Regions from separate parts of the Homo sapiens genome. Here region 1 is linked to region 2. Evidence: promoter capture Hi-C in human tissues and cell types (Jung and others, 2019). All regions are on one chromosome and are shown on one strand. The core of a region is centred on a gene start or on the middle of the fragment in contact, and the rest is flanking DNA. Distances in the headings are between cores, read along the strand shown. Region 1 overlaps ZNF143 (zinc finger protein 143). Region 2 holds the start of NRIP3 (nuclear receptor interacting protein 3).

Region 1 (6,205 bases), core at 3,205-5,704, 480 kb before region 2:
ATTACTATCAGGCAGTAGATCCCTCACTTTTTATTTTTACTAATCTATACTATTTGGATTTTCTAAACATAAACATGATTACTTTTATATTTAAAAATATGTAAAATAGATACGTAGAGTAAGATTACGGGTCATTTTGGGTTTTCTTCTTTGTACTTTACCTGAATTAAAAAAAACACTAAAAATATTATCTTAAAAAATCTTTGGCGGCCGGGCGCGGTGGGTCACGCCTGTAATCCTAGCACTTTGGAAGGCCGAGGCAGGCAGATCACGAGGTCAGGAGATGGAGACCATCCTGGCTAACACAGTGAAACCCTGTCTCTACTAAAAATACAAAAAATTAGCCGGGCGTGGTGGCGGGCGCCTGTAGTCCCAGCTATGCAGGAGGCTGAAGCAGGAGAATGGCGTGAACCCGGGAGGTGGAGCTTGCAGTGAGCCAAGATCGCGCCACTGCACTCCAGCCTGGGCGACAGAGCTAGACTCCGTCTCAAAAAAAAAAAAAAATCTTTGGCCAGGTGCGGTGGCTCACGCCTGTAATCCTAGTGCTTTGGGAGGCTGAGGTGGGTGGATCACTGGAGGTCAGGAGTTCAACTGGGAGGTGGAGGTTACAGTGAGCCAAGATCAGGCCATTGCACTTCAGCTTGGGCGACAGAGTGAGACTCCATCTCAAAAAACAAAAAATAAACAAAAAAAAAAAAACACCAAACTTTTGCCCCTAAGATAACCATGGATCTAATTAATACCTTTCTTTTAGAGGTAGAAAAAAAGAGACTTAGAAAAGCAAGGTTCAGGCTGGGCACGGTGACTCACGCCTGAAATCCCAGCACTTTGGGAGGCCGAGGCAGGTGGATCACTTGAGGTCAGGAGTTTGTGATCAGCCTGGCCAACAAGGTGAAATATAAAAAACATTTTTTTAAATATTTCTTTAACAAAAATATAAAAAATTAGCCGGGCATGGTGGCACGCTCCTGTGATACCAGCTACTCAGGAGGCTGAGGCAGGTGAATCAGTTAAACCCAGGAGGCAGTGGCTGCAGTGAGCTGAGATCAGGCCACTGCACTCCAGCCTGGGCAACAAAGCAAGACCCTGTCTCAAAAAACAAAAACCACAAAAAACCAAGTACTAGGTTCTCAACCTTAAATACGGTAATTAATCATTTTAGAGAATGGTGAAGTCATGAACTTCTGATCCAGCACTAATGAAGAGAAATATAATAAGTCACAAGTGCAAGCCACATATGTGATTAAAAATTTACTGAGCTGGGTGTGGTGGCTCACGCCTGTAATCCCAGCACTTTGGGAGGCTGAGGCGGGCGGATCACGAGGTCAAGAGATTCAGACCATCCTAGCCAACATGGTGAAACCCCCTCTCTACTGAAAATACAAACGTCAGCTGTGCATGGTAGCATGTGCCTGTAGTCCCAGCTACTCGTGAGGCTGAAGCAGGAGAATCCGCTGAACCCAGGAGACGGAGGTCACAGTGAGCTGAGATCATGCCACTGCACTCCAGCCTGGTGACAGAGTGAGACTCCATCTCAAAAAAAAAAAAAAAAAAGAATTCCGGCCGGGCAAATTGGTTCACACCTATAATCCCAGGACTTTGGAATGTCAAGGCAGGAGGATAACTTGAACCAACACTGCACCATTGCACTCCAGCCTAAGCGACAGAGCAAGACTCAGTCTCAAAAAATAAATAAATAAATAAAATAGGGGTCAGGCATGGTGGCTCACACCTGTGGTCCCAGCACTTTGGGAGGCCAAGTGGGCGGATCACAATGTCAGGAGTTCGAGACCAGCCTGGCCAGCATGGTAAAACCCTGTCTCTACTAAAAATACAAAAAATTAGACAGGCACGGTGGCATGTGCCTGCAGTCTCAGCTACTCGGGAGGCTGAGCAGGAGAACTGCTTGAACTGAGCAGGTGGAGGTTGTAGTGAGCTGAGATCGCGCCACTGCACTCCAGTCTGGGTGACAGAGCGAGATGCCGTCTCCAAAAAAAAAAAAAAAAAAAAAAAAAAGGCATGTTGGCTCACACCTGTAATCCCAGCATTTTCAGAGGCTGAGGTGGGTTGATCACTGGAGGTCAGGAGTTCGAGACCAACCTGGTCAACATGACGAAACCTCATCTCTACTAAAAATACAAAAATTAGCTGGGTGTGGTGGTGCATGCCTGTAATCCCAGCTATTCGGGAGGCTGAGGCAAGAGAATCATTTGAACCCAGCAGGTGGAGGTTGCAGTCAGCCAAAATCACATCACTGCACTCCACCCTGGGCAAGAGAGTAAGACTCCATCTCAAAATACATAAATAAATATAATAATAAAATAAAACAAAAAATCTCTAGTAACCAATTGAAAAAAATTAAAAGAAACAGGTGAAATTAATAGTAATTATTTTGTTTAACACAATATGTCCAAAATATCATTTCAACGTTATCAATATAAGAAATTATTGATATTTTACATTATTTTTATCGTACTATGTCTTCAAAATCCACTTACAGCACATCTCAATTTGGACTAGTCATATTTCAAGTGCTTAACAGCCACATATGGCTAGTGGCAACCGTATTGGACATTGCAGATCTAGTCTGTAAGGAAGAGGTACAAAAGGCAAAGGAGAAAAAAGCTACAGTAAAAAAAAAAAAAAAAGAATCCCATTCAGTAGTCTTCTATTTGTCTACTGGTACCAATACCAAATGGTAATATGTCTACAGATAAAGAGTAATGGGATTTTTTGGCCGGGTGCGCTGGCTCACGCCTATAATCCCAGCACTATGGGAGGCCGAGGTGGGCGGATCATGAGGTCAGGAGATCGAGACCATCCTGGCTAACACAGTGAAACCCCATCTGTACTAAAAATACAAAAAATTAGCCAGGCATGGTGGCGGGCACCTGTAGTCCCAGCTACTCCAGACGCTGAGGCAGGAGAATGGCGTGAACCCGGGAGACGGAGCTTACAGTGAGCCGAGATCGAGCCACTGCACTCCAGCCTGGGCGACAGAGCGAGACACCGTCTTAAAAAAAAAAAAGAGTTGGGGCCGGGTACAGTAGCTCACGCCTGTAATCCCAGCACTTTGGGAAGCCAAGGCAGGCAGATCATGAGGTCAGGAGATCGAGACCATCCTGGCTAACATGGTGAAACCCTGCCTCTACTAAAAATACAAAAAATTAGCCGGGCGTGGTGGCGGGCGCCTGTAGTCCCAGCTACTCGGGAGGCTGAGGCAGGAGAATGGCGTGAACCCGGGAGGCAGAGCTTGCAGTGAGCCAAGATCGAGCCACTGCACTCCAGCCTGGGCGACAGAGTGAGACTCCACCTCAAAAAAAAAAAAAAGAGTAATGGGTTTTTTTAATGACATTTTGCCTCAGCAGTTCTGAATTCCTAGTTACGTTTTGAGTTCTGAAATTTTTTTTTTTTTTTTTGAGACAGTCTCACTCTGTTGCCCAGGCTGGGGTGCAGTGGCACAATCTTGGCTCATTGCAACCCCCACCTCCCAGGTTCAAGCGATTCTCCTGCCTCAGCTTCCCAAGTAGCTGGGATTATAGGCGCACACCACCACACCCAACTAATTCTTGTATTTTTAGTAGAGATGGGGTTTTGCCATGTTGGCCAGGTTGGTCTCAGACTCCTGACCTCAGGTGATCCACCTGCCTCGGCCTCCCAAAGTGCTAGGATTACAGGCGTGAGTCACTGGACCCAGCCTACAACTGCTTTTCTTTAAAATATTCTATTATTTTAAAATGTACTTGTCAGTTACCAATAAGACAGAGAACTTATTGGGCCACTCCAACACTCCAAGCCACTGACCTATAACTCCCGCACATATTTACCCTGTGTTTGCATCTTAGTAGAGGTTGACTTAGGTGGATTTGACATAGAACTGTATAAAAAATACTGAAGTCTCATTTTTTGGGAGGTGGGGGAGAACAGGGTCTTGCTCTGTTGCTTAGGCTGGAGTGCAGTGGCACAATCAGCTCACTATAACTTCAAACCACGGGCTCAAGGGATCCTCCTGCCCTCGCCTCCCAAACAGCTGTGACTACAAATGTGTGCCACCATGCCTTGCTAATTTTGTAATTTTTTGTAGAGATGGAGTCTCACTTTGTTGCCCGGGCTGGTCTCAAACTTCTGGGTTCAAGCAATCTTCCCACCTCAGCCTCTCAAAGTATTGTGATTACAGGTGTGAGCCACCACACCTGCCTTAAAGTCTCATTTCATTCACAAAATATGAATATGAATTGAGACCTGAAAATTTTGCTACGAATCACACAGCATCAAAGCTGATGGGCTTAGTGAACTGAAAACTGTGTTTATTCTATTGCCACTTTGTAGCATCACTTCAGCTGGTAAACAGAAATATTGGCTATTCAGCAACGCGTAGAAGCATAATATTTCTTTTTCTTTTTTCTTTTTTTTTTTTTTGAGACAGTTTCGTTCTTGTTGCCCAGGCTGGAGTGCAACAGCGCGATCTTGGCTCACTGCAACCTCTGCCTCCTGGGTTCAAGCGATTCTCCTGCCTCAGCCTCCTGAGTAGCTAGGATTATAGGCACTAGCCACCACACCTGGCTAATTTTTTGTATTTTTAGTAGAGGCAGGGTTTCACCATGTTGGCCAAGTTGGTCTCAAACTCCTGACCTCAAGTCATCCATCCGCCTCAGCCTCCCAAAGTGCTGGGATTACAGGCATGAGCCACCACGCCCGGCCAGAACCATATTTCTACAAGTGATTTCAGTGATTCCTGTTATTTTATCACTTACTATTAATATAAATGTAAAATCTTCTTGATAACCCCTAACAGTATCACTCAATGTCACTAAGTGGTCATGTTAATGCTCAAGGTTATAAATGTGACCCTGAGTAGTAACTTTAGGAGTTAAATATAATAAAACTCTGAAGAATGAAAAAAAAACTACTATAAAGGAACAGTCAACAAAATATTAGAGAAAATTGCTGAGAAAATAAAGAGCAGCATTAAAGCAGGAATGTACTACAATGATTATACAAGCTCCAAGCATACCCTCCACACGAACATCCCAACACAAAAACAATTCTTGAATAACATAAGTTTTGAATTTTTGATTGTAGGAGATATGCAAGAATGCACCTGGGACTACTTTGTACTTACTACAAAACTTTTAGAAGCACTGGTGCTCTGGGCTGTTACTTAGGTAAGGGGCAGCCAATGACTGGACCCAGGGTGAACATTTGAACCACGGGAAGCCAGCCCACAGGCCACCTGCAGACCAGGAAGCAGTCTGGTAGAAAAAGTATAAACAGCTTTGTCCAAGATTAACTAGGCTGGACTCTCCCTTCAGAAGTTGAAAAGGAAAATATGGAGGGAATCAGCTGGAAGAAGAAGAAATTTAAAAATACAAAAAGCAAAGCAGTGAGGATTATTTAGAAAGAGTCATGATGAAGTCCCAGAAAAAGTATCCACAAATTGCCATGCCATGGGTGGGGGCAGTCAGGAAGTCACCTGGTCTCCACAACTGCCTTGTCCAGAAAACTGCCTTGGAATCCAGCACACAAGCTTCACCTGGATTTCTGTGATACTTCCATTTCTTTAGCATCATTTTGCATCCACCAATGAACACTGGGACCTCAGGCAGTTTGAGAAAGCTGCTGCCCAATACATACATTGTTTTTCTGAACTGGTGAGATTTTCCTAGAGAGGTAGTGAGTTACCTATTCTTGCTTTCATCCACAGAAGGGCACAGAAATGCTAAGCTAGATTTTTATATTAAAAAGTAGCTTTACATACCTGCATTTTTTTCTCTTGCTCATTTTCTCCAATCATTCCAGTACCTGCTACACTTTCACTTCCATCAATGGACACCTATAGGAATAAAATAAAGCTTTAAAATGTTTTACATTTTGATAATGGTTTAGGCTGGTTAAGTACATGGTTCAGGGAGAAGCTTGCAAAAAAAAAGAAAAAGAAAAAAAAGTACATGGGGCTTCATTATCATTTATTTTTGTGTATATTTGAAAATTTCCATAATAGGCTGGGCATGGTGGCTCATGCCAGTAATCCTAGCACTTTGGGAGGCTGAGGCAGGAGGATCATCTGAGCCCAGGAGTTCAAGACCAGCCTGGACAAAAGAGCAAGACCCTGTCTCTATTTATTTTGTTTGTAAAGAAAAAAAAAAAGAAAATGTCCCTAACAAAAGTGAAATAAAACCTTTTAAGTTATATGAGAGATACATGT
Region 2 (7,166 bases), core at 940-3,439:
TGATGGGACAGAAGGGGCCAGGGCAGCCACTGTTGTTCACTGCTGGAAGTGTGCCAGGGGACTGGAAGGTGAACAGCAATCCCACCTGTCTCCTAGAGACTCTGTCCTCCGTGTGTAGGGGAAAGTAGGGGATGGGCACACAGGGAGGAATCCAGCCCTGGGGCTTCCTTGAAGCCAAGTGAGCAGCCTTCTGTATTTGTTTTCCCACAAACAGTCTTTGAAACTGGGGCAAGTGTTGAAGGCAGAACAGAGTAAAAGAAGCAGCTTCATGAGGCCAAACCCAGTCTCTCCAGGTCTAGGTAGTCCAGCACAGGTTCTGGGAGTAAATGCCAGCTTTACCACTTGATTTCTTTGGTACGACCTTAACTTTTTGCCATCCTTTCACTAGTATTTGAGAACCCTCTGCATATTAGGGCATCAATGCTAAGCAAAAAATGGGTTCAGTCACCTTCCTGGAGGTTCCAATCAGTGGAGGAGACAAATATTAATCCAACAACCAGTACCCCCCTACCCCTACCCCCACAGAAAGTGTCAAATGCCCAAGAGATAGATAGTATATAATTAGAGAGACTTCACTCTCTCTGGAAGGTCAGAGAAGGCTTTCCTAAAGAAATGATAATGGAGCTGAGGTCTGGAAGAAGCATAGGAGTTTCCTGAAGAGGGTAGGAGGGGGCACTGCACACAGAGGGAACAGGACAGTCAAAGGCAGGCCATTTGGCAACAGGTGACTGGAAGGAACTGGAAGAAGGCCCATGAGGCTGAAGTACAGAGTGAATATGCAGGGTCTAGGCAGACCATGCAAGAATGTGGGTTTCTCCTAAGAGCAATAGGAAGCCTTTTGAGGTGCTCTTAGCAGGGAAGTGAGATGATCACACTTATCGTTTGAGAAGATTACTCTGGCAGCACAGTGAACAACGTATTGGAATGGAACCAAGGAGCATTCAGGAGGCCAGACAGAAGGTATCAGGTATTTGCCTGTAAAATGGGGGTGATGAGAATACTATCTTACAAGCTGTTGCCAGGATCCAATGAGATACTGCATTTTAAGTGTCTAGTCTAGTACCTGGCACATAGTAAAGGCTCAGTAAGCGTCGATATTGTTACTTTTATCATTGGTTCTTTGCAGAGTGCACATATTTCTTATCCAGGTCTGCTCCTGCGTGATGGGGTGGAGGGAGTAGTTGTGGTTTCCAGAGTGAAAACGTGATTTGTGTCAAATCACAATGTCGAGACCAGAATCCAGGATGCCTGAAGGCCCGATTAGAATGGCTTAAAAGTATGGATTATTCAGGAAGAAAAACGGGTTCCAATCGCTCCTACTAAGGACGCTGGAGGGATGGTGAACGATCCTTTAGATGGTAAGCCCTAGCACTTATTGAGAAAAACAGGTGCTTCTTTGGTCGGAGAGCAGGTGTAGGGCTCGCAGCCGCGTGCGCTCCCGCGGAGGCGGGGGACCCTCGCCACTCCCCCGCCCCACGCCCACCCGCGGGCTTCCGACTGCACCTGCTCCCCCGGCTCGGAAACGCGGGCCGGGTGCCGGGCTGCAGGCAGAGGGTGCCCGGGGGAGGAGGTCCCGAAAGCCTCCTCCACACGCCTGCACCGGCTGCCCCCTCCCCAGTCACGTGGCCCGGTGGGTGGGGACCGACCTGAAGTTGGAGAAATCCGGAGCGCTCCCAACCTCGGAGGGAGTCGCCAGTCCTCCGGGCCCGGGCGGTGGACCCTGGAGCCCCGGCTGGCGGCGTGGAGGTGCGTTTCTGAGAAGCCGAGCAGCGGCGCGGGCGGCGGGACTCGAGGCATGGCCCGGCTGTCGGTGATCCCCGGGTCGGCCACGGCGTGGACAGGTGAGCAGGTACCCGCGGCCAGCGGCAGAGATGGCCGGGGCTGCCAGGGCATCGGGCCCCAGAGCCCACGCCAGTCCAGGGGATGCGGGGCCCCCACGCAGGAGGGGGCGGTTGGGTGAAAAGGCCGCGGTGGATTCTCGGACTGCCGGGTCAGTCCCCACCAGCGCCGCCGCCTCCTCGCCGGCTTTGCCACCGGGTGAGCAGGGGACGCGGGACGCGGGACGCGGGACGCGAGGGAGCCGCGCGGGGCGTGGACTCTGTGCCGGCCCCGCCCCCCGCGCGCGCACTGGCTGCTCCCCGCGACGTCACGCTCGGCTATAAAAGGCGCGGCTCGGGGCCCTTGCGGCGCTGGAGGAGCTCGAGGCTGAGGCTGCCGGGGGGCTGTGGGCTACCGGGCCGCCGGCGCCTCAGCGATGTTTTACTCAGGGCTCCTCACTGAGGGCGGCCGCAAGGAGACCGACATGCGGGAGGCGGCGTCACTGCGACAGCAGCGCCGGATGAAGCAGGCGGTGCAGTTCATCCACAAGGACTCCGCCGACCTGCTGCCCCTGGACGGCCTCAAGAAGCTGGGCTCGTCCAAGGACATGGTGAGCCCCCGCCGCCGTTCTCGCCCCGGCCCCGGCGGCTTCGCGCCCGCCGTTTTCCGAGGCCCGGCCGTTGCGGCTTTCACTGAGTCACGGCCCGGCCCGCCGCTGCCCTTGGCTCGCGGTCGCTGCGTCGCGGATTCCTCCCCTTCCAGTACCCCTGCTGCGGTTTCGGTGGGGATTCCGTCGTAGCTTTTCTAGCTTGCGCTCCCCTCGGCTGTGCCTCCTCCCTGGATGTCTCTTCTCCAGTAGAAAGAAGAGGTCCTGCCCTGCCCTCTTGCCCTCGGGTCTTCTTTCTTTTTCCTTATTCTTAATACCGAATTTTGTTCACGGGGCTTGTGCCTCCTATGCTGTGTGGCTGTTCCTATGACCCAGACAGAGGTGATTCCTAATGGCTTTCCGTGAGGGGGAAAGAAGTGGAAAGAGGGTTTTTTGACAGTTGCCAGATCCAGAGGACTTCTGTTGAATCCATTGTCCCCCTATGCAAAACCCACTTCTCTAGTTTTGGTCCTAACTTTGACCTTCCATCCTGAGTGGGGAGAGAGAAAAGGGGCCAAATGTGAAGGTTTCCTGAACCCCCAACATCTCTTCATCATTCTCCTCTTCCAGCCCCGCCCCCAAGGAGTGGGTAGAGGGAGGAAGCCAGGCTGCTGCATCTCACCGACCAGCTAATGTGTGCATCTGGAGCTGGGGTGGGTGCAGTCTTTTTTTCTAGCACAGTTGTTCCTGGCATTAAGTAGAAGCACCTCAGGACAGGGGGCCTGGGGTCAAAGATGGTACTGTCCTCTTTCTATAGAATGGGATGGATGGCTAAGGGTTACCAATATAAAGAACTGTATTTGTCATCCCTCAGCCACTGTAGTGGTCCTGGGCCAAGTTTATGTTTAACTTTGTAGTTTTATCTGGAGTTTTCTTGTAGTTTGATTGTTTTCTTGAATTTCACAATCGCTTTATTCATTTGGGTGGTAATATGTGAAACACTAATTAAATGTCTTTTAACAAATGAAATAGGTGCTCTGCATAATTTTTCTAGTATTTTTTATTTTAAGCTTTTGAAATATTTAATTTTGGATGTGGTTGTCGGCCCTAGTTCACTGAAATTGCCATTTCTGGCCCCAGGAGGGCAGAGCTTCTGCATCCATTTCCTTTTTTTTTTTTTTTTTTTTTTAATTTAACAGCTCTAATGATACACAGGTACATTATATTATACACAGTATAATATAATATACAAAAATTTTTCTCCTCCCTGCCATTAGTTACTTCTGTGCAGAGTTTGTCTACTTCAGTTATCTTGCTCTGTTTTTTTTACAAGTTGTGTTTTTTTGTTTTGTTTTGCTTTTTGCACAACCCACAGGATAGTTTATCTGATTTATGCTAACCCAGAGTGATAAGTGATTGAAATGTGCTCCTGCAAAAGAGATAACTCTCTTTTCCCTTCTTTCACTTTAAAGCAATCTCGATTCATTTAACAAATCAGGTTCGAGAAGTATTCTTTCCTTCAGGCCAAATAATCCTATCCTAGTTCCTAGAATGCTCAGCAATCAATAAAGAAGGAAGTATTATATTAAGAGAAGAATTAAAATACAGAGTTTTTAAATGCTGGATTTGGTTGTCCCTCGTTGTCGAGGAGTTTCCTAGCCCTGAGAGCTACCTGAACTTCCTTCTGCCTAGGATTTCTTATACTACTTCATGCTGTGTAAGAATTCCATCCGCTTTTCTGACTCTAGTCTGTCTCAGTTGAGTCACAAAGGGCTGATAGCATACAGCACAGGCAGCAGGCTGCAAAGAGGAAGGAGCCTCAAGAAGCAGGATATTGCCTTGAGTATGACACATACACATGACAGTTGACTGTAAGGCTCTGAATCATGGTTCACGCTTTCTGTGCCCCACCGTCATGGAGTTGATTTCCCTCTCTCACTGTTTTCACACCTATAATGTACAAGTGATTGCACAGAACAGCCAGGTTACAGAAACCAAGGCAGACCGAGGTAGGGCTAGGAGAGCCGCAAGCGCTGGGGTGAGGCAGCATGCTTAAACTCTCTTGGAACTGTTGTTGCAGCCTTAGTACAATCTTAGAAGTGACCTTAGAAGTACATTATTATTCTTTTACTTTATAAATACATGTGGGATAGACCAGTGTTGACTCAATTTTCTCTCACTGCAAGGGAAATTTGGAGGATGTTAAAATTAATTGAATAGTTCTTACTTGGAGTAGTTTATAGTATAATCTCGATAGAAGGAGTCCAAGAAAAGGGAGAGGATAGCATCAGAGGGAGATAAGGAAGAGAGAGGAGAAATTAGTTGTTATTGACTTTTGGGTTTGTGAAGATTGTAGGTTGTTTTTCCTCATACCAGCAACCTATATTTGAATATACCGCTGGGATTTCTGAATTATCTACCTCTTACTATGCTGTTTCTGTAATGTTCACTGCTTGATACCAGCCTGCCAGCTCTTTTAGGACTGGCAGAAGGCAACCATAGGAAATCAAAGGGGGTCATGTTCTCTTGGCCCCAGGAAAGTGCCTTTGCCTATTCCTGTGTATCTGGAGTTGGCTGATACAAAGTCTTCTGTGGAAATTATATTTTTGTCTGCCCCTTTTGCTTTTATCCTTTTATCTTGTATTGTTCATTCTGTATTAGATTAAGAACTAAAACCAGAGATATGAGTGAGTAATATTATATTTGATTTTTTTTTTAAGAGACGGGTTCTCACTCTATTGCCCAGGCTGGAATGCAGCTGCAGTCACATCTTACTGCAGCCTCGACCTCGCAGGCTCAAGAGATCCTCCCACCTCAACCTCCTGAGTAGCTAGGATTACAGGTGCACACCACAACACCAATCTAACTTTTGTATTTTTTGTAGAGATGGGATTTTGCCATATTGCCCAGGCTGGTCTTGAACTCCTGGTCTCAAGCGATCTGCCCACTTTAGCCTCCCAAAGTGCTGGGATTACAAACATGAGCTACCACACCCAGCCCTGATTTTTTTTTTTAACTCAGTGAAGCTGGAGAAAAACATCTCCGTTCTTGGAAATTTGCCTATTGTAATTTATCTTGTTTTAGCTACCAGGTTCATAAAAGTTTTTCTCATTGTGCTAAGGACTTTTTAATTTTTAAAAACAGTCATGTTATGTGGTAATATGCTGTCTTTCCTAAATGATATTATACTTACCTGTAGGCATTAGGCCATATTCTTACTTGTCTGGCAATAGAGTTTTTCTTTCCTACATATGATTGCTTCTGATCATAGCTAAATGCTTTTTCAAAACTGACTAGAATTAGGAATGATGCTGGGGGAAAGATGGTTGAACACAGTAAAGCAAACTTACCATAAAATACCTGAACAGAATCTCTGTCTATTAGAGCAGGTCTGTGTGGTGTGCCCTATAGATTAGCTATCCATATCACCACAAATCATGGGCTGGAGAATTTCAGAGGCTTAGAAGAGAAGCGTGAAATACCAGTATAACACCAAGATCTGGCACAAACTGAAGATTTGCAGAGTCGTGATTGCATCCTCGTAATAGCAAACATTATTTGAATACTTGCTGTGTTCAGGACACAGTCTAGGGGCTAAGACACAAATAGGAAGACAGAAAAGTTTCTCATTATAAACAGGTTTATAGGTTGGGGGCAGGGAAGGACAGATCAGTTAATTTAATATACAAATATTTATTGAGTACCTACTACACATGTCATGCAATAATTTAAGCTTTGGAGATATAATAGTGAACCAAAACTGAGTTCCTGCCTTGACGGAACTTTCATTCTTGTGGGAGGAAGGAGGCAGAAAGTAAAATTAAGTAAATGTATATAAGGTAATAATAATAAATATTTTCTATGGAGAAAATAAATCAGGGTAAGGGGAATAGGGAAGGCAGTGACTGGGGTGGGGTGGAGTCTGGCTATTTTGTACAGGGTTGTCCGGCAAGGCCTATCTGATAAGATTACATTTGAGGAGATACTGAAGGGAATTAAGGAGCAAAGTTTCTCAGGGAAGAGTGTTCTAGGCAGAAGGAACAGCAAGTGCAAAGGACTGAGGTGTCACTGTGCTTGATATAACTGAAGAACTGTAAGAGGACCAGTGTAGCTAGATCAAAATGAGCAAGGGGGAGGGTGATAGAAGATAACATCAGAGATGTAGTAGGAGGCCATTGTGCAGGCATTTGGGTGGTTTTTTAAAATTATTATTTTTTTTATTTTCCACTCTTTTCAGCGCATACCTATGCATTTGGGTTTTAACCTGAGATTGGAAACGAGTGGAATATTTTGAGCAGAGGGGTGATATGATACATACGACTTATTTTACAAAAAGACTACTCAGGCTACTATGTGGGTTACACTGTAAAGGGGCAAGAGTAGATGAAGCAGGAAGACTGATTAGGAAGCTATTATACAGTAATTGAAGTGAGAGTTGATGGTACCTCAGAGCAGTGTGATAAGCTGTGAAGGAGAGGAGGAAGGATCAGGTTCTGGATATATGTTGAAGGCAGAGCTGACAAATGTAATTGATGCATTGGATTAAGAGTGAAAGAGTAATCAAGGAAGACCATGAGGTTTTTAACTTAGCCATTGGAAGAACAGAATTATCACTTGCTGAAGTGGATAAGACTTGCAGCGGGGAGCAGGTTGAGGATGGCAAATAAGAATGAAGAGTTTGCGGGCTGGGCGCGCTGGCTCATGCCTGTAATCCCAGCAGTTTGGGAGGCCGAGGCGGGCAGGTCACGAGGTTAGGAGATCA

What was found. The method cuts DNA at HindIII sites, captures the fragments that hold promoters and counts their contacts. A contact is called where the count stands out against the background at its distance.
Region 1: a contact is called between a fragment that was not itself captured here and the fragment with the promoter of NRIP3 in region 2, in 1 of the 25 tissues and cell types used here (mesenchymal stem cells).

What each region holds. Positions count from the first base shown.
Region 1 is chr11:9,479,100-9,485,304 of GRCh38, reverse strand. ZNF143 (zinc finger protein 143) reads right to left here. Exons shown (of 16, transcript NM_003442.6): 7 at 5,759-5,833. Among named protein-coding and RNA genes, the nearest start is that of ZNF143, 21 kb to the right of the region's middle. The HindIII fragment of the contact is 7,913 bases long and covers 498-6,205 here.
Region 2 is chr11:8,999,024-9,006,189 of GRCh38, reverse strand. NRIP3 (nuclear receptor interacting protein 3) reads left to right here and starts at 2,189. Exons shown (of 7, transcript NM_020645.3): 1 at 2,189-2,428. The coding sequence starts at 2,255. NRIP3-DT (NRIP3 divergent transcript) reads right to left here and starts at 2,102. Exons shown (of 3, transcript NR_183663.1): 1 at 1,647-2,102. RefSeq lists an enhancer at 2,093-3,012. The HindIII fragment of the contact is 10,801 bases long and covers 1-4,806 here.